Regions from separate parts of the Homo sapiens genome. Here regions 2, 3 and 4 are each linked to region 1. Evidence: promoter capture Hi-C in human tissues and cell types (Jung and others, 2019). All regions are on one chromosome and are shown on one strand. Each heading gives the region's core, a stretch centred on a gene start or on the middle of the fragment in contact. The rest is flanking DNA. Distances are from core to core; before and after follow the strand shown.

Evidence for each region. Contacts are between HindIII fragments. The study calls those that stand out against the background at their distance.
Region 2: a fragment that was not itself captured here is called in contact with the fragment with the promoter of AHRR in region 1 in 4 of the 25 tissues and cell types used here (IMR-90 fibroblasts, dorsolateral prefrontal cortex, lymphoblastoid cells and 1 more).
Region 3: a fragment that was not itself captured here is called in contact with the fragment with the promoter of AHRR in region 1 in 2 of the 25 tissues and cell types used here (lymphoblastoid cells and mesendoderm cells).
Region 4: a contact is called between the fragment with the promoter of CEP72 here and the fragment with the promoter of AHRR in region 1, in 1 of the 25 tissues and cell types used here (lymphoblastoid cells).

What each region holds. Positions count from the first base shown.
Region 1 is chr5:318,211-322,963 of GRCh38, forward strand. It overlaps AHRR (aryl hydrocarbon receptor repressor), which reads left to right and starts at 3,504. Exons shown (of 11, transcript NM_001377236.1): 1 at 3,504-3,609. The region is part of intron 3 of PDCD6-AHRR (PDCD6-AHRR readthrough (NMD candidate)); the gene reads left to right. RefSeq lists enhancers at 307-606, 3,740-4,307, 4,396-4,515 and silencers at 2,716-2,975, 3,126-3,615, 3,706-4,085, 4,096-4,155. The HindIII fragment of the contact is 29,634 bases long and covers 1-4,753 here.
Region 2 is chr5:655,121-659,873 of GRCh38, forward strand. It overlaps TPPP (tubulin polymerization promoting protein), which reads right to left. Exons shown (of 4, transcript NM_007030.3): 4 at 4,742-4,753. It also overlaps a transcript of CEP72 not described here. Among named protein-coding and RNA genes, the nearest start is that of TPPP, 36 kb to the right of the region's middle. The HindIII fragment of the contact is 7,661 bases long and covers 1-4,753 here.
Region 3 is chr5:638,265-643,017 of GRCh38, forward strand. CEP72 (centrosomal protein 72) reads left to right here. Exons shown (of 12, transcript NM_018140.4): 8 at 825-960; 9 at 2,144-2,340. Among named protein-coding and RNA genes, the nearest start is that of CEP72, 28 kb to the left of the region's middle. RefSeq lists an enhancer at 4,564-4,733. The HindIII fragment of the contact is 9,549 bases long and covers 1-4,753 here.
Region 4 is chr5:609,405-614,157 of GRCh38, forward strand. CEP72 (centrosomal protein 72) reads left to right here and starts at 2,936. Exons shown (of 12, transcript NM_018140.4): 1 at 2,936-3,039. The coding sequence starts at 2,958. CEP72-DT (CEP72 divergent transcript) reads right to left here and starts at 2,806. Exons shown (of 3, transcript NR_103444.1): 1 at 2,748-2,806; 2 at 2,043-2,349. RefSeq lists enhancers at 1,859-2,789, 2,790-3,719. The HindIII fragment of the contact is 15,731 bases long and covers 1-4,753 here.

The sequences.
Region 1 (4,753 bases), core at 2,254-4,753:
TATTTCCCCCCACCCTGCATCTCCCCCCAACCCTGCACCTCCCCCCATCCTTTACCTCCCCCCACCCTGCATCTCCCCCCAACCCTGCACCTCCCCCAATCCTTCACCTCCCCCCTCACCCTCCACCTCCCCCCCTCACCCTGCGGCAAGCAGAGAGCTGACTCCAGCACAGTGAACTTGGAATGATGGAATGCACCCTGGAAGCAGCTCTGACGGGCGCCACCGTGACTGTGCCCAGCAGGGAGCTCCCTTGTGGTTTTTAACAAAAGACAAAATTCCCCAGGTCCTTCTCTGTGCTACAGGAGAAACTGGTGTGGGAGAGGGAACCCAGGCGTGACCAGGGAGAAACTGGTGTGGGAGAGAGAGGGAACCCAGGCGTGACCAGGGCTGCCCAAGCGGCTCCCTGTGAGGCATCAACGCTGGAGACACAGCAGTCATGGGGAACCCGGGGAACCCGGGAAACCCAGCCGCCATCAGAGAGCCAGAGAGCCGCAGGCGCCTGTGCGGGGTCCTGGCCTGGCCCGAGGGGTCAGCACACCCCTGTCTGCCTCTGAGGTCAGGGCCCTGGGGGCTCCTGACCTGGCCTGCCTGTGGGAGGCAAAGGTGTGGCCAGGAGAGGACAGGAGGGGGCAGTCACAGTCACCACTCCTGGAGGCCCATGAAGAGCAGCTTTGCCCCCACACTTCTGTGAAGCCAACTTGGGCCTGTTTGGGAGGGGCCTGGCGCTGCAGCCGGCCGTGGGCACCTGCCATGTGGCGGTCCACTGGAGGCCAAGTCCAGCTCATATGGCTCTGGGGACCCACCGCACCAGACTCCAGTGTGGGGGTACCCGGAGCTGGGGGTGGGTCCTCGGAGGCTTCCAGTCCTGCCCCAGCTGCCATCCCTGCCAGGTGTTAGCGCCTCTGGTTCAGAGTCCCGAGAGGACCAGTGGCCCAGGAGAAAGGGGTGTGTCTCCAGCTGCTGGGAGTGTGGGTGGGAGCCAGAGGGTTCAATGACACTGGGGACAGCAAGTCCGGACTGGAGGGAGGAGACCTCCTGAACAGGGTCCCCAGCACAGAGGCAGAAAGGAGACTCTGTGACTGGGGGTGTCAGCTGCATCTGGACCTTCGTGGTGGGGAGGGAGGCACGCCCAATAGCCCGTCTGAACGGGAGGTGGCTCAGGGATCCCCCATTGTGCTGGTGGGGTGCCCAGAGACTCCAGGACTCCACGTGGGGCTCTGCCTGCTAAACCCTGAGACTTTAGGGGCAGTGGCTCCCACGGCAGGGTCATCCTTTTTCTGCACAGTCCCACTGGCTGCCCCAGGTCCTGCAGAGACCTGAGACTTTGGGGACAAGCACAGGGGACAGGTGGGCGTGGATGGCCTGTGCCGGTCAAGGGCAGTGGGAAGGAAGGAGGAGCAGTTTCCTTCTGTACCCAGGAAATAGAGTAACAAAGTGTCTCATTCCAGTTGGTTCTGGTGGGACAGGGTAGGTGGAAGGGAACCCGTGCTTGCCCTGAGACATGGGGGTGCTGTCTTCCCATGCAGGGGGACTGCGGCTCACCACCATCACATTCTACCCACAGGTTCTTATTTTAACAGATCACAAAGGTACTATGTGCTTCTTGCAAAAATTTACAGGAATTGTAGACTTTTCAAAAAGTAAAAAGAAATTAAAGTTCACCTGTTACCTCAGAGTTATCCAGCTACACATTTTCTGTGCATAATTCACTTTACAAAAATTGGATCAAGATAAAACTAATGATTTTTAAAAATACAGCAATATAGTTGCACATTGTTCCATATCAAAAAATAAATGTGTGCACCCAGGGCTCCTGGCTGTCTCAGTGGCATAGTGGCTCATGCCTGTAATCCCAACACTTTGGCAAGCCGAGGTGGGTGGATCACCTGAGGTCAGGAGTTCGAGACCAGCCTGGCCAAGATGGCAAAACCACTATCTACTTAAAAAAAAAAAAAAATTAGCCAGGTGTGGTGGCGCGCGACTGTAATCCCAGCTACTTGGGAGGCTGAGGCACGAGAATCGCTTGAGCCCTGGAGGCAGAGGCTGCAGTGAACTGAGATCGCACCACTGCTCTCAGGCCTGGGTGACAAAGCAAGACTCTGTCCCAAAAAAGCCCATTTACTCAGCTCACATTTTTGAGCCTCTGCTATTCGACAGGAACCAGAGGTGAGCAGAGCCGACTTGGTGACCCCTGGGGACAGAGCGGCAGAACTCAGCAATTCTGGGCTGCCCTGCAGGAGCTACACCCGGGGAGGGGCGGTGGCCACTTGGGGGCAGGGTGGGCTTCTCAGCTGCGCCCACCCCACCTTGGGAGCTGTGTCTGGAAAAGAGACTTTTCCTGAGCCGACAGCAGACAGCGAGTGCAAAGGCCCCAAGGCCCGCACGCCTTATTCAGAGAACAGCAGGAGGCGCGGGGCGGGTTGGGGGCGTCAGGGAGACGGGGTTTGACTGAGAACCTGGGGGCGCCAGTGACAGCCTCGGCCGCGTTGCTGAAAACCGACCTTGCGGGATGAAGAGGGCGCGGTTCCCCCGGCTGGGATGAGGACCGCGGATGCTGAGGAGCGGACTCCAGGGACCACCGACTCCATGGCCGGCCCCAGCGAGGGCGAGAACGGGTGGAAGCCGGCCAGGGTCTGTGGAGACGTCAGGGTGCGAGGCCAGGCTGAGGTGTCCCCAGGGATCCCCTGAGGGTACAGGGAATTCAGCCAGGGCCTGCGCGCCCGGACGGAGGACTAGAGGGGGCCAAGGACCACCGGGAGGGGGAAGGAGAAGGCGCAGCCCGAGGTCGGAGGGGCCGGCGGGCGCGCAGAGGGCGCGGGGTGAGCCCTAAGGACCTGCAGGCAGGACCCTGCTCTCGGCCGCGCGGTCCCGGGTGCCGACCGGCGGGGTGGGCGGGGCAGGGGCACCCAGGGCCGCACACCTGCCGCGTGGGACCCTGAAATGCCCAGGACGAAGAACGTCGCACGGACGACCCTGCCGTGCCTGGCGCGCGTCCGCTTCCTGGGAAGCTCAGGATCCAAAAGCATCTTAATATTCTCTATAATTCGCCAAAAACCATGACTCCTTTTACATTTTCGAAACGACCTCATGGGGCAGGCGAGGGGGCACACGCTCTCCTCACTTTACCTGTTCGGGTCTACACCGCCCGGCTCTAGGGCCGGCAGCTCAGCACAGCCGGCCGCGAGCGCTGGGGAGGGGACGGGGGCGCAGGGAGAACCGGGGGACCCTGGGCGCACACAGACCCCAGGGGGAACGCAGGGCCTGGAGGGGCTCAGCGCGCGACCCCCGCCTCGGGGCACGGAGACTCCGGGGGATCACTGGGACGCGAAGGGCGCAGGGCGGACCCCAGGGGAACCGGATGGCGTCTCCGGTTCGCCAGGGCAGCTGGGGCAGCCGGACCCGAGACAGCCGGACCCGCGGGCGCCCTCTGCCGCCTCCCGGCCCTGGATGCTGCGGGGCGGGGCGGGCGGCTCGCGTGCCGGGGTGGGGCAGTCCCTGGAGCCGCCGCGGGTTCCCGGGATGCGAGCGCCGGCACCCGCCGCCACAGCTCCTGGCCAGGGCGCGCTGCCCCGCGGGTGTGCCTGAGCCTCCGCGCCCCGCAGGCCCTGGGTAAGTGTCCTGGGCGCCCCCGCAGGCCCCCGCCGCGTGCCGCCCGCGGTGGAGACGGGATGCGCTCCCGGGTGTGGGGCTGAGGGACGGGCGCCGGCGTCGGGACCCTCCTCACGCCGCATCCTCGCGTCGCCAGGCCCGGCGGCCCCGGGACGGGGCGGACACTCTGGGGTGCGGCTGGCTGGTCTCACTTAAAACTCGGACCTCGGAGGGAAGCCGCGGCGCGTCCACGGTTCGTGGTCCTCAGCGTCCCCTCGAGAGTGTTCTGAGCCTTCACTCCCCGGGCGTTCCGTGCGGGCCGCGCTCCCTGGGGCTGGGCGGGTGCGGGCGGCGGAGCGGGGCCCCGCTGTCGGGCCGAGGGCGCCAGGTCCGGGGGGCCTCACCCCCGGGAAAGGCCCATGTTCAGGCTTGGTTTCAGTAGCACCCAGTAGCGCTGAAGTCTTATTTTGAGCGGCCAGAATTCCCAGACCGGATGCCCTGAGAGAGCGATGTGGCGCCTGGAGTCCACGCTGGGACCCCTTCTGGGGAGGGGTCGCCATGGGCGCGTGACAGGCAGGGGCCACCCTCTGACCTCTTCTGCGAGGCCGGAGGTCAGAGACCTTGTGCAGAAGCGTCCCACGGGCCTGTCCCACGGGCCTGTCCGGCTGTGGCCTCCGGGATGGCAAGGGCAGGCGGGGAGGGGCTTCCTCCCTGGGCCTCCTGTGCGCGCGCACAGGCTCTCGTCTGCGGGGTTCTTGCAGAAGGGTGGGCGTGTGCGCGCGTTCTCCAAACGCCACCCCCACGGGGCCTCACAGCCGCCCCGGCCTGGCAACCGTCACCCATTTTACGAACGAGGACATCAAGGTAGGTCGCTCATCCAGCCTCTCAGAGCAAGTGACTGGCGGCGTTTGGACTCGGGCCGAGTGTGCCATACCCATCCCGCACAAAGCCGGGGCTCGATGCGGCCCCAGAGTCGCTGAAAAGCCACGAGTAACAAGAACTGGAGAACGTAGGATGCTGACCCGGCGGACGCCGCCGCCTGGGGAGCCGCTTCGACGGGGGGGACGCCACCGCCTGGGGAACGGCTTTTATTTTCGTTTTCTTACTTATCTGTATTCTCTAAAATGAACAGACACGAGTTTTACCACGGGAGAAAGGTTCTTAG
Region 2 (4,753 bases), core at 1,408-3,907, 340 kb after region 1:
GAGGCTGAGGCAGGAGGATCACTTGAGGCCAGGAGTTTGAGACCAGCCTGGCCAACATGGCGAAACTCCATCTCTGCTAAAAATGAAAATTAGCTGGGCATGGTGGTGGGCACCTGTAGTCCCAGCTTCTTGGGGGGCTGAGGCAGGAGAATCGTTTGAACCTGGGAGGCGGAGGTTGCAGTGAGCCAAGATTGCAGCACTGCACTCCAGCCTAGACGACAGAGCAAGACTCCGTCTCAAAAAAAAAACAAAAAAACTCCATTTGATTTTTTTCATTAGTTTTATATCCCATTATGTTCACGTTTCCATTAACTGCTTAACCATGTTTTTAACAGGTTTACTAGAAATTCCCAACTGTTCCAAAGTGGTGGTACCCGCAGGCCCGACTGCTAGTTGTGTATGACCACGTCTGCCGGTCCATGTTTTCAGCACCCATTGCCTGAAGTGTTAGCACCTTCACTCCGGTGGGTGTGGGGTAGTGGAGGGAGTGGGGTGGTGGAGGGCGCGGGGTGGCGGAGGGCGCGGGGTGGTGGAACGTGTGGGGTAGACCTCTTTCTGGTTTCATTGGCTTCTCCTTGTTCAGCACCTTCTCATGTGTCTGCGGCTCATTGGGATTTCCTGTTTGTAAAGTACCTATTCAAGTATTTTCCCTACTTTTCTATTGGATGGTCTGTCTCATTTATTTGCAGGTGTTATTTATGATTCTGGGTAGTAGTGCTTTGTGAATTACATTTGCAAATAGCTTTTCTTGTCTTTTTACTTCAATGGTGTCTTTTAAGAGAAATTTTAAACTTTAATATGGCCCAATGTATCAATATTTTCTTTTATGATTAAAGCATTTTGGATCCTAATTTTTAATAATCTTTACTTTGCCTTGATCATAAAGATACTCTGTTACCTTCCAAAGGATTTTATAGTTTTGTATATTTTGGATTTTAGATATAGATTCTACCCAGAATTGATTTTTGCGCCTGTTGTGAAGCTTAAGGATCCAGTTTCATTGTGTTGCAGACATAAGCCCAGTTTTCCCAGTCCCGGCTGCTGAAGATTCCTTTGTCAGGATGATCTCTGTGTCCGTTTCTGCATCTCCTTGTCTGTCTCTGCCAATACCACACACTCTGGGGCGCGTACCTCCATCTTATGTTAGGATGTCTTGGCTGTTTTTGACCCTTTGTGTTTCATACATTTTAGAACTAGCCGGTCGAGTTGGGATTTTGTTTGGGATTGTGTTGAACCTGTAGATCAACTTGGGAATCATTGACGTACTTGCAGTACTGGGTTTTACAAGCTCTGAACATGGTATCTGTCTCTCCAAATGTTAGGGCTCCTTCAGCGGGTGTTCATACAGCCTGATACTTTTCACAGTGGTCTTGTATGTCTTTTGTTACATTTAATCCTAGGTCCTTGTTATTTTGCGATGCTGTTTTTAAAAATGTGCTTGGATTTCATTTTCCTAATTATGTGTTGCCATTTCATGGAAATTCATTTTTGTGTATTAATTTGTATCCGGCAGTCTAGTAATTTTAATCATTTGCCTGTAGCTGTTTCCTCATTTTTAGGCACACAGTCATGTTTTCTATGAGTAATGGGTTTTCTTTCCCATTCCTGTTGTTCTGGATTTTTACTTTATGTTTTTATTTTTGTTTTGTTTTTTGCTTTTCTACACTGGTCGGAACCCCTAGTGCAGTGCTGATTAGAGGTGGTAACAGAGTGGGCATCGTTGTCTTCTTCCTGATATTCAAAGGGGTGATAAATTCTCACCATTTATCCACTCACTTGTAATGGATTTTTTTTGCTTGTTTTAAAGCTTCTTCTATCAATAATTCGCCTCAAGAATGGATGACTTTTATCACTTTTTCTGCAGTGATGGAGATGACCATGATTTTTATCATTTAATATATTGATGTGTTTAACGACCATAATTTGCTTTTGTTAAAAATAAACCTTGAATTTCTGAGATAAGTCCAACTTAATAATTATGGATTTTCTTTTACATACATATTGTTATATTTGGTTTGTTAATATTTTGTTTAGCATTTTGTGGCCCAGCTATACTACCTAGCACCTGTGTTTGGGCCCTGATTTCCTCGTCTGTACAATGGGGAAATAGTGGCTTCCTCACAGGATTGTTGTGAAGGTGAAATGAGTTAGTATGAATAAGACTCTCGGGCAGCATCTGGTGCGTCCTGAGCACTGGGTAGCTGCGTGCTCTAGTACAGTGGTTAGTATCTCTCTTCACGGGTGACAGCCACTTACGATTTTCCTTTGTAATGCTGTTCTTGAAAGGATTCGCATCTTTACACCACCGTAAAATGAGCTAGGTTGTGTATTCTTTCTCCATTCTCTAGGAGAATTTACTTAAGATTATAATTATTTCTTCCATGGATGTTTGATGGAACTTGCTGGTGAAGTCACTTGTGCCTGGAACTTTCTTTGTCAGGAGGTTTGACTACTGATCCAGTATAACTCAGTGTTCCAGGATGTGGCAGAACCGTTCACACAGACCATCCTTATGTCCCCCCTGCCTTTACGCTGCATATCCCTGAGTTGGGCTGGGGCCGTGTGACTACTGAGCAACAGCCTGTGTGTGGGACTGAGGTGAGTCATTTCAGGGCCAGAGCAGCGGGAGCTGGTGCGTCACTGTGATAGCTTCCCTGCCAGTGACCTGGGCAGCTGCATCACAGGATTAGGAAGTCTGTTTGTCTTCTGTTAGAAGAGATCTCTTGTTATTCCTGAAGTTGGACGTTGTGTGAGTAATACATTTTGTGTGTCCAGCCACTGAAGTGTTAGGGGTTTTCTTTTGTAGCTGGCAGTGACTTCCCCTAAGTCACAGGGCTGAGCAGGCTTTCCATTTCTTTTCGAGTTAGTTTTTGTAAGTTATGTGTCTCTAAGAATTGGTCCATATTGTCTTAATTTTCCATTTTGGGGGGTATAACACACATAATTTGAATGGCTTCAACATTTGAAGTTGTGTGTGTCCCTGTGGCAGAGATGTAGGGACAGTTGTGTCCCTTCAAGCGAGACCTTGCCATCCAGGGGCAGGGAGTACAGGGGTAGAGACCATCTCCAGCCACCATGCTGTCAGGCTGTGCCTGGGCTCTGGAGCTGAGGACACACTCATCCAGGCAGCTGCAGCCAGTGTCCAAGCAGGCAGGGCCTGGGCCTAATGCGAACCACAGGGAGCTCCCTAGCAGGTCATCTCCAGAGCCTCCCTGAGGCCTCCCGGCCTCCTCCCCTTGCTGCTGTTCAGGGGCATTCCTCACCAGTGAGCCTCTTGTGATACAAAGGCCACCTCAGCATCTGCCTCCCGGGGACTCAGCCCATTCTTGGCCATTCTTCATATTCGTTATTTGAACTTTCTCTTCAGTCCTTTCAAAGAAACACCCTTTGCCTCCATTTTCTTTTCAATTTCTGATCTGATCTATCATTAGCCATGCTGAAATTACAAATAAATATGGGTTAAAATATTATTTTATCAATTTCCCTGTTCTGTGTTTCTTTCTCTTGTTTTATCAGCAAAGCTGATTTTTTTTTTTTTTTTTTTTTTTTTTTTTTTTTTTTTTTTTGAGATGGAGTCTCGCTCTATTGCCCAGGCTGGAGTGCAGTGGCGTGATCTCGGCTCACTGCAAGCTCCGCCTCCCGGGTTCACGCCATTCTCCTGCCTCAGCCTCCCGAGTAGCTGGGACTACAGGCGCCCGCCACCACGCCTGGCTAATTTTTTGTATTTTTAGCAGAGACAGGGTTTCACTGTGTTAGCCAGGATGGTCTCAATCTCCTGACCTTGTGATCTGCCCGCCTCGGCCTCCCAAAGTGCTGGGACTACAGGTGTGAGCCACCGCGCCCGGCCTCAGCGAAGCTGATTGATCCACCATCTCATTAGTTTAAATCTGCCATCTCATTTTGTGCTGTTTGTTCTATTCATGGTTTTTTCCCTCTTCACTTTTGCCACTTTTGGATGATCTCCTGTCATCCCGCATGTCCCTCTGCTCGTTTGGAGACTGTACTCTGCTTCTGTCCCATGCTTATGGCATGTGTGCGTTTAGTCCATGCTCTCACCCACCTCTGGGGTTGGTTCCTGGAGCGCGAGGCGCGCGTCCCTCTCCATGCTCCTGTTCTGCTCACCTGTGGGGGTTCCCAAGTATTTTTATGAAACATTTTAATCTCACAAAGTATTGATATAGCCACTGTTAATTTGGAGTTATTGACCTATTTATTCTCTTTGCTCCACTTTCTTCACAAACCAGACATGCCATTTGAGATCACCTTTGCTTTCTGCATTTAGAATTTCTTTAAATGTCTGCTGGTGGCAAATTCTCTTTTCATTGTCCAAAAATGCCTTTATTGTATCCTCATTTTGGAAAACTGTTTCGCTGGGCTAGTATCTCAGGTTGGCATTTTTTTTATAGCAGCCTGTGATGACATTGTCCTGTTTTGGGGGCTCTGGTGGTGTTCACAGTGTTCATGTCCATTCCCCTTGAATCTAGACCCCACCCAGGGCTACACCAGTGCTAGAGCAGGACTCACACCTGACAGATGGCTGGTCCGCCTGCTCCTCCTTCACGGTCCTCCTGTCTAGATGAGGAAGCGAGAGACTCCCTCGGGAAAAGGCGACACAAGGGCCTTGGCCCTGTGAGCTTCAGCCCAGTGGAGGCACTCAGCACACTCCCCACCTGGGGCCCCTCCAGTACCTATCCCCTGTTATCACCTGTTACAGACACGTGTGCTCTGAGGAACAGAGAAATCCATGTTTTAA
Region 3 (4,753 bases), core at 740-3,239, 320 kb after region 1:
TTCGTGAGGGGAGGATCCTGGAGGTCGCTGTGATGAGAGACCGAGTCACTCCACCCTCAGGGTGACCTAGAGGTCAGGGGGACAACTGGCGCAGGCCCAGTCAGAGGCGTTGAGACACACCTGCTGTAGACATGAGTGCAGACCACCCAGAAGGGAACAGGCAGGGGCTGTTCACTTGGTACTTGCCACAACGAGGGCTTCAGACTCCCATGCAGGCAGAGGAGCTTGAAGGTGCGGAACTGTGGGACAGGAAGGGAGGCATGGCCGGAGCTAGAGGCAGCTCCGTAGCAGCATGGGGTGGGGGGGGGTCCCAGAGCTGGGTGGGGCGTGTTTGACGTCCCCGGCAGGTCCTGAGCTGGAAGGAGGCAGAGATGGGGGAGGTGGGCGGTCTGTTTCAGGGTTATTGTTTGACTCCGGGCCATTGCTGGGGACAGCGCCTGGCACCCTCTACCAGCCTGACTGTGGGTGCAGGCTGCTTCCTGGGCAGCTCCTTTTGAACACAGGCTCTGACTGCGGCCTGGATGTGTCTTCCGCTTCCCTGTCTGGGTTGAGGGGAGGAGTCTGGGGCCTGCTTGAGTTGGGAATGTGTGGGCCCCGTCCTGTCCTGTCATCGAGACCTCACTCATCCAGGACCGGTGCACCTGGCTAAGCCTCACTGGGCAGGCACTGCTGAGCCGCCCTCCACCTGGCTCAGGGCTGGGGCCTCAGGGCACCTGTCCTCCCCTTCGTGGTGCGAGGGCATCCCAGGGTGCGCTTGGGCACCTGCTGGCATTCAGGACCTCAGTTACTGACTCGCTGGCCTCATGCTGTTGTTTCCATCACAGCCGTCTCCCGGGTCACACTCGGCTCTACCCGGGAAGAAGACGGCCCTGCAGGCGGCGCTCCTGGAGACGCTCTTGGACCTGGTGGACAGGAGCTGGGGCGGCTGCAGGTCCCTGCACAGCAACGAGGCATTCCTTGGTGAGTCAGGGCGGCCACTGCTCTTGCCCTGTAGGCAGCGTCTGTGTGGGTTCCGGGGTCCTCTGCGTGTGGTGACCTAGGAGTCATCTCAGCCCCAGGTCTCCTATGTCCCCTCCCACGAGCGTGTGGTGGTCCCGCGCCTGGGCCCTCCCTGGCAGTCTTTGCATCTCACAGTGTCCAGGGCTCTCGGGAGACACCACATGGGCCTGGGCCTGTGGGTCCCCCGCTGTGCTCTGGGGTGTTGGGGGGCCTGTCACCTCATTTTGCTCAAAATGCTGTCCAAAGGGGCTTGGTTCTGATGGCTGTGATCACATGGGGATTTGGAGTTTGGAAGCTGCTCAGCATCTTCTCCCCCGACCCAGACGTGTAGCCTGTGCTGGGCCTGGATTGCAGAGCTTTTGGTTGGTGTGGGACCCAGGAGGGTGGTCCCTCCCCAGAGAGGACTTGGGTCTGTTGGATTCTACCAGGCAACCCGTACATGAGCACACTGGGGCCTCCCTCATCCAGGATCACACTGGGAGACCAGGAGATGCCGCGTCCCCAGGGGCACCTTCTCTTTGTCCTGCATCCTGGGGTGTGGCTGTGTGTGTCCCTCAGGAGCCTAGCCAGTGTGCTTCTCCCCGCAGACCCTGGGCACGGCTCTGAGCTGTCTGACTGCGCCTTGCAGTGTTATAGCCCCTCAGCTCCTAGAATGAGGACGCCCTGCAGTCGCAGCCCACCTGGACCCCAGCCCCATAAACCTCCCCTCTCCCTAGGCTGGTGTCCTGTGGGAGCCTCCTGAGCTTGCCATCGTCGGTGGCGGGGGGACTGTCCCAGGCCCAGGCCACTGTCCCAGTGTGGAGTTGCCAGCTGTCGTCTGCATGGTGGTTTCCACACAGGGCAGTCGGTGCTTGTGGAAGGCGCAGCGAGTTGTGGCGGCGCCACTGAAACCTTGAGACGTGGCGGCCCCTGGTTGCCCCTTTTCTTGGAGGTCACCTCTTCTCTTTCTTCAGTTCCCACCCTGCCCGTGTGTGGACGCACAGAGCCTGAGGTGGTTTTGTGGCGCCAACACCCCTTTCCCCTCTCCCTACCTGTCGTCTTTTTGAGGCATCGTCTGTGTGATTCAAAACATACTGAGCCGATTTTGTTTACATTTCATCCTTTAAGCCTAAGTGCTAATGTAATATTTGGTTTTCACTCCTAGCTCAGGCAAGACACATCTTGTCATCTGTTGAAGAATTCACAGCAGCTCAGGACAGCTCTGCGATGGTGGGTGAAGATGTCGGCTCCCTGGCTCTGGAGAGTAAGTCCCTGCAAAGCCGCCTTGCTGAGCAGCAGCAGCAGCACGCCCGGGAGATGAGCGAGGTGACGGCGGAGCTGCACCACACACACAAGGAGCTGGTGAGCCCGCCCTGGCGCTGTGTCTGTGTCCATGTGACTGGGGGAAACATGGCTCTGACTTCCAGGAACGAGGGCAGCTCCTTGATGCCACACTGTCCCAACTGCCATCTCTGCAGCCCCATGTCTCCACTCCCTGCCCGGGACCCGGCCACCCCCGGAACGCGGCCTGCCCTGTCTCACAACAGGCCTGGAGCACTTTGGAGACAGCAGTGGCGCTGGCCACCTTCTCTCCCCGGGCCCAAGGGACCCTCCACCACTGGGCAGTGCCGGGTGCTGCAGGAGCCAGGCCTGGACGTGACTTTGTCTTGCTGACCCATCTCTCAGGGCCTCGAACTGGGGAAAACCGAGGCCACTCTCCTTTTATGAAGGAGATGACGGCCAGTGTCCCATGGTGAGCTGGGGCTACAGGGCAAGTTACCCCAAAACCAGCAGCTGAAAACCTGCATTTATCACCTTGGATTTCTGTGTATTGGGCCTCAGGCTCAGCTCAGCCAGGCTCCCTCCTTCCGTCTCAGCCGTGGGCCGGGGCCGCCGTCTCATCTGAGGCCTCATGGGGGCTCTGTCTCAGCCGTGGGCTGGGGCCACCGTCTCATCTGAGGCCTCACGGGACAGGATCCTCCCAGGCTCCCTCCACGCTGCAAGGGCCTCCCCACGGGCTGCTGGCATCCTTAGCACAGGGAGCTGGTGGTCAGAGAGCCACACCCAGGCAGAAGCCGCCCTCCGGGAGTCCTGGTGTGAGGGCAGAGCCACGTGAGGATGTGCACATCCAGAGGGGCCTTGTCAGCATCTTTAAATTGCGAGTGAAGTCGGCCCGGGACGGCTTCGAAAACTGCCTCTGAACTTGTCTGACAAGTACATACTGTCCGTTTCATGGGAACCAACATCTCAGAGATCCCACACAACGCTTCCTCTTTAGAGAAGAAAAACACAGCAAAACAACACAGGCAGCCTCTGTTTAAACGCACGTGGCCCCCCCACCCCGCCTGGAAGCCTCTGCACGTGGCCTTCATCTGGAAGCCTCTGTATTTAAACACATGTGGGCCTCCTCCATCTGGAAGCCTCTGTATTTAAACACACGTGGGTCCCCATCCCCCGTCCAGAAGTCTCTGCATTTAAACACACATGGCCCCCCATCCCCCATCCAGAAGCCTGTGCATTTAAGCACACGTGGTCCCCCGTCTAGAAGCCTGTGCATTTAAGCACACGTGGTCCCCGGTCCAGAAGCCTCTGCATTTAAGCACACGTGGTCCCCCGTCCAGAAGCCTGTGCATTTAAACACACGTGGTCCCCCGTCCAGAAGCCTGTGCATTTAAACACACGTGGTCCCCCGTCCAGAAGCCTCTGCATTTGAACACACGTGGTCCCCCGTCTAGAAGCCTGTGCATTTAAGCACACGTGGTCCCCCGTCTAGAAGCCTGTGCATTTAAACACACGTGGTCCCCCGTCTAGAAGCCTCTGCATTTAAGCACACGTGGTCCCCCGTCCAGAAGCCTGTGCATTTAAACACACGTGGTCCCCCGTCCAGAAGCCTCTGCATTTGAACACACGTGGTCCCCCGTCTAGAAGCCTCTGCATTTAAACACACGTGGTCCCCCATCTAGAAGCCTCTGCATTTAAGCACACGTGGTCCCCCGTCCAGAAGCCTCTGCTTTTAAACCAACGTGGCCCCTCCTCTGGAAGCCTCTGTATTTAAACACACATGGCCCCTCATCTGGTGGAAGCCTCTGGATTTAAGCACACATGGCCCCTTCTCTGGAAGCCTCTATATTTAAACACGTGTGGCCCCCCGTCTGGAAGCCTTTATACTGAAACACACGTGACCGGCTGTCTGGAAAGTGAGCTGGGCGCCGTCACTGATGATGTCTTTTCTGTGGGACACAGTCAGGCACACCCCTTGCCCTTCTGAGCCTGGGACGAGACAGAGCTGACAGGCGGAGCCCAAAGGTGTGCCGAGCACCAGTGCTGCCAGGGGTGAGAGTCACATGCAGCTGTGGCTGCCGTGGACGCCTGCTTTTTTGCCCTCTGCAGTTTGCCTAACCCCTGCAGTTTGCAGGCAGCCCTGGGCCTCTGGACAGAGCAGCCCTGGTTCCCTGTCAGGGTGAGTGATCCAGAAGAATCTGGCAGCCCGAGCCCCGCGGGTAAGGAGCAGTCAGCACCGTCAGGAACCCCGCGGAGGGAGCAGCCGTGCAGGCTGGTGGGCACTGCTTTCCAGGGAGGCCCACATCTGTCACTCCAGAAGCACCCAAGTTTACTCTGCCACGTGAGGACGCTCATCCCTCGGTCACATGAACCTAGACCTTGCTTCCTTTGGAAGCTGCAGTCGGGTGTCCTGAGGCAAGGTGGCCCCACTTCCAGCTGCTGTGCCTGGCACGGCCTCTGAGGCAGATGGGCTGCGCCCAGCTTGGGTGCAGTC
Region 4 (4,753 bases), core at 1,686-4,185, 290 kb after region 1:
TCAATACGCACAGGCTTGAAAAACACCTGCAGGATACATGTGGGCATGTTAGTGTGGGTTATCTCAGCAGGGCGGCATATCGAATCTCGGTGCCCTTCTGTAGTGTCTATATTTTCTACAGTGAAGCTGGGATACTTTGGTGAGCAGAGGCATTGTTTTCAAAGTTCCCATTGGTACTTCCATCACATCCCCGTGTGGTTCTGTCCTGGACCGGCTGCCCACTGAGGTCCCACTCGCCCCTACCCTGCCCTGTCTGGCCAGCTGGGTACCTGCCCAGGAGGAAGAGGCTCAGTGTTTGGGGCCTGTGTTATGCCCTGAAAAGCCACTGCTGTTGGGTGAGGGCCCATGAGGCCTTCAGTTTGCCATCGTCATGTGCTTCTGAAGAGCCAGGATGCTGTCCACTGTTTGTCTCCTGGCGGGACAGAATTCCACTCAGTGCATATCAGGGGCAGTGATGGGGCTGGGGGTGTGAGGGCTCAGCTGTGCCCTGAACTCCTTCACAGTCTTGCAGGAGGGGTCATGGAGCCATATCTGGGTTTGCAATTTTTGGAAAGTTACGTGACGATCTGCACTCAGGAATGCTGAGTGTTCGGCAGGCCCCATGAACAGTGATCAAATGTGACGCTGTGTGTCCCACAGCCTAAGGGCTGTGGCAGAGACCAGGAGGGCCATCAGCTCCCACAGCTTTCGAGTCCACCTCAGGGCTCCTCCTTGCTGACCTCCCTGGGTTGTCAGTGGAGACAGCCACCCTCCCACAGAGCACCTGCCTGAAATGGGCCAGGCCGCCCCTGTGCCCTGGCTCTTGCTGCACATGCTGAGGTCAGCACGGAGGCGCCCTCGGGCACCAGCATGCCCTCGGGTTTGCAGCTTGTCAAATATCCCATGAAGGCAACCTGACCAAATGTGCTCTAACACCACTGGACCAATGGAACGTCTTGGGCTGAACAGATGCAGCCTTGCATCCACCGCCTGCCACCACCCTCTGTGTACACCCCCTGCACACACCTCTGCACACACCCCCCCTGCACACTGTTGCACATACCCCCTGCACACAGCCTGTGTACACTCCCTGCACAGATCCCCTGCACACAACTCCCTCACACATCCTCTGCACAAACCCTGTGTATACCCCCTGCACACACCTCTACACATACCTTCACACACCATGTATACCTCCTGCACACACCTCTGCACACACCTCCTGCACACACCTTGTGTACACTCCCTGCACACTGTTGCACACACCCCCTGCACATAGCCTCTGCACACAGCCTGTGTACACTCCCTGCACAGATCCCCTGCACACACCTCCCACACACATCCTCTGCACAAACCCTGTGTATACCTCCTGCACACACATCTACACACACCTCCTGCACACACCTTGTGTACACCCCCTGCACACTGTTGCACACACCTCCTGCACACACCTCCTGCACACACTGTTGCACACACCCCCACACATAGCCCCTACACACACCTCTGCACATACTGTTGCACACACCCCCACACATAGCTCCTGCACACACCTCCTGCACACACCTCCTGCACACACTGTTGCACACACCCCCACACATAGACCCTGCACACACCTCCTGCACACACTGTTGCACACACCCCTTGCACATACACCCTGTATATACCCCCTGCATACTCCTTATGTACAGCACTGCACATACTCCCTGCAGAGACCCTGTGTGCATCCTCTGCACACACCCCTTCTGTATACTGTCTGCACACACCCCCTACATGTACACCCTCTGCACACTCCTCCTGCATACACCCCATGTACACCTTCTGCACACACTCCCTGAACACATTCTGAGTACACCTCCTGCACACCCCGTGTACAACCTCTGCACACACCCCCTACACACTCCCCTACACACTCCCCTACACCATCCACACACACTCCCTGCACACAGCCCCTGCACACATTCCCCATGTACACCCTCTGTCTGTGTATACCCTCGTCTACTACCACCATACGTACCCCCCACCACTACCCTGCCTTGTCTATCACCCCCCAGGCTGTGACATACCAGGGATGTTGCCAACGAGCTGGTCTAATCTGGGGTGAGGGTTTCTGGGTGCCCCTAGACACCAGGAGAAAGGCGGGGAGGGGACACCCCTGGGGGTCTGGATTCACTCCACCAGGCGCTGGGCCACAGTGGTACGGTGACACAGTAGATGTCTTGAGCAGGATTAAAGTCTTCCCAATAAACAGGCTGAACTCTGTCTTCCTTGAAAGCTCTGTAGAAGGACCTCACAAGGATAAACACAGCGAGACCCTCCAGGGCGCGGTCAGCCACGAGCCACAGTGCTGGGCCTGTGACATCTCTGGAGGTTCTGGGGTGGAGAAGGACCGGCCGTGGGGAGTGACTGGCTGGGGAGAAGCTCAGCTCCCGCCCACCTCTGGGAGGCCCGGGGCTGGACGGGAGGTGCAGCAGACAAGGCTCCGGGCGGGTGCTGGGGTGTCTGGAGGGGTCCCCGCGGGGGGGTCGGGTTGGGTGGGGAGTCTAGGTGAGTCGGGGGTCCCCGGGGGCGCTGGGTTCAGGGTGGGAGCGGAGTGTGGATGGGGCAGGGTCCCCATGCCCACCACCAGCCGCGATTCCACCGCGCCTACTCGGGGTTTCCCCGGGAGGACACCGCGTGTGTCAAGGGCCGGGGCCTAGAAGGCGGCCGCGCCCAGGGAAGCCTTGACAGGGAGCTATCTGGGGCGGGGGCTGGGGTCGCGTGGCCAGTACCTGGGAGAACCGCCATTCAGGAGAACCCCCCGCCAGGCTCTTGGTTCCGCCCACGCAGTCCCGCCCCCTCCCCCAGCCACGCCCCTCGCCCCGCCGCGCAGGCCCCGCCCCGTCCCGCCAGGCTCTCGGTTCTGCCGACGCAGGTCCCGCCCCTCTCGTAGCCTCGCCCCGCCCGCCGCGCAGGCGCCGTCCGAGGGCTCCGTTTGAAACATGGCGCGGGCTGGCCCTCGGCTGGTGCTGAGCGAGGAGGCGGTTCGGGCGAAGAGCGGCTTAGGGCCTCACCGCGACCTGGGTGCGCCGGAGGGCGGGCGGGGGTGCAAGCGTGAGGTGGCGGGGGGGTGGGTGCCGAGCTTCCCGGGGCGGCGGCGGACCGTGGGCAGGCGGGACCCGTCTACGCAGGCGCCGCGGGCGTCCGGAACGGTCGCGGGCGAGCGGGGCGCGCGTGTCCAGGTGAGCGACCCACCCCCCGTGCCCAGGTGCGGCCCCTGCCCGCGTTCGGGTCCCGGCGTCCCGGCCCCTGCCTGTCTATCGGGTCACTGGTTCCGTGACTGGGGGTTACATCCGCTGAGAAGAGGGAGCCGGCCTTGCTGTCCAGGAGCGCAGCCCGCCCTCCCGCTGGGGATCACCTCCCTGGTTCTCCTGGGCCCACTCTGTGGTGATTGTTGCGCTCGGCCTTCTTGAGGATGTTGGTGGCCGGTTTCCTTCTTTTTGGCTTATTTTTGTCTGGTTTTGGCGTCAAGGTGAAGCCGAGCTCATAAACTGCTGAGAAGTGTTGCCTTCTCTTATATTTAGAAGAGGTTCTGTAGAGTGTGTGCTCATTGTTTGAATGTTTCCTGGAATTTTCCAGTGAAACCATATGGACATGTCAATTTCTGTTTTTGAAGCTTTTAAATGACAAATTCTGTATCTCTGGTTGTTAGAGAACCGTTCATATTAGTTCACCGCGAGTCTTGGCTGTGTGGGGTTTTGTGGCATTGGCTTATTTGAGCTAACTTGTGGAGTGTGTGTGTTGAGTTGTTTCTGGTGTTCTGTTGTTAGCCTGTTAATGTCTGTGTGTGGTCTGCAGGTGTTACTGGACCAACAGGTTCAGTCAGGTGCTGTGGGGGCCACAGGCCAATACACTGAGACAGTGGGGTTTGCAGCAGAGAAAGAGTTTAAGGCTGGCAGGGGCCCAGCAGGGAGGTGGAAGGAGGCCTCAATCCATCTCCCCAAGGAGATCTGAGCGGTTTTTTTTTTTTAGACGGAGTCTCACTCTGTCGTCCAGGTTGGAGTGCAGTGGCACAATCTCAGCTCACTGCAACCTCCACCTCCCAGGTTCAAGTGATTCACTCAGCCTCCTGAGTAGCTGGGATTACAAGCACGCGCCACCATGCCCGGCTAATTTTTTATATTTTTAGTAGAGACGGGGTTTCACCATGTTGGCCAGGCTGGTCTTGAACTCCTGATCTCAGGTGATCCACCTGCCTTGGCCTCCCAAAGTGCTGGGATTACAGGCATGAGCCACCTACACCCAGCCTGAGCTGGGGGTTTTAGAGGAACAGGACTGTGAGGAGCTGGAAGATTGGTGTTGTCAGTTGGTGGAGGTAAGGGCCATGGAATTATCAGGGTGTGGAAACTGCATTCTTTGGTGAATCCGCTTGCGGGGCCCTTTAGACCAGCTGGCATCAGTCCCCAGGTCCTGAAAGAATATCTCAAATGGAAAACTTAACGGTTTATAATGTCCAGGTTATTATCTGTAGAGTGGTTAAGGGGAACTGTAACCTCGTGACAAAATCCAAGTGATCCTGAGGCAGTAGGCACCACAGGGCTCTGAGGAAGCAGGTGAGAGGGCAGCTGACCTCGGGACATGCCGAGTCCTCCCTTCTTCCCTGATTAGTGCTACAAGGTTTACAGGGATATCCCTTTTCTGTTCCTGATGTTGATAATCTGTGTATTCTTTCTTTTTTAGTCTTGCTAGAGGCTTGTGAATGTTATTGATAGTTTCAAAGAACCGACTTTGGGTTTGA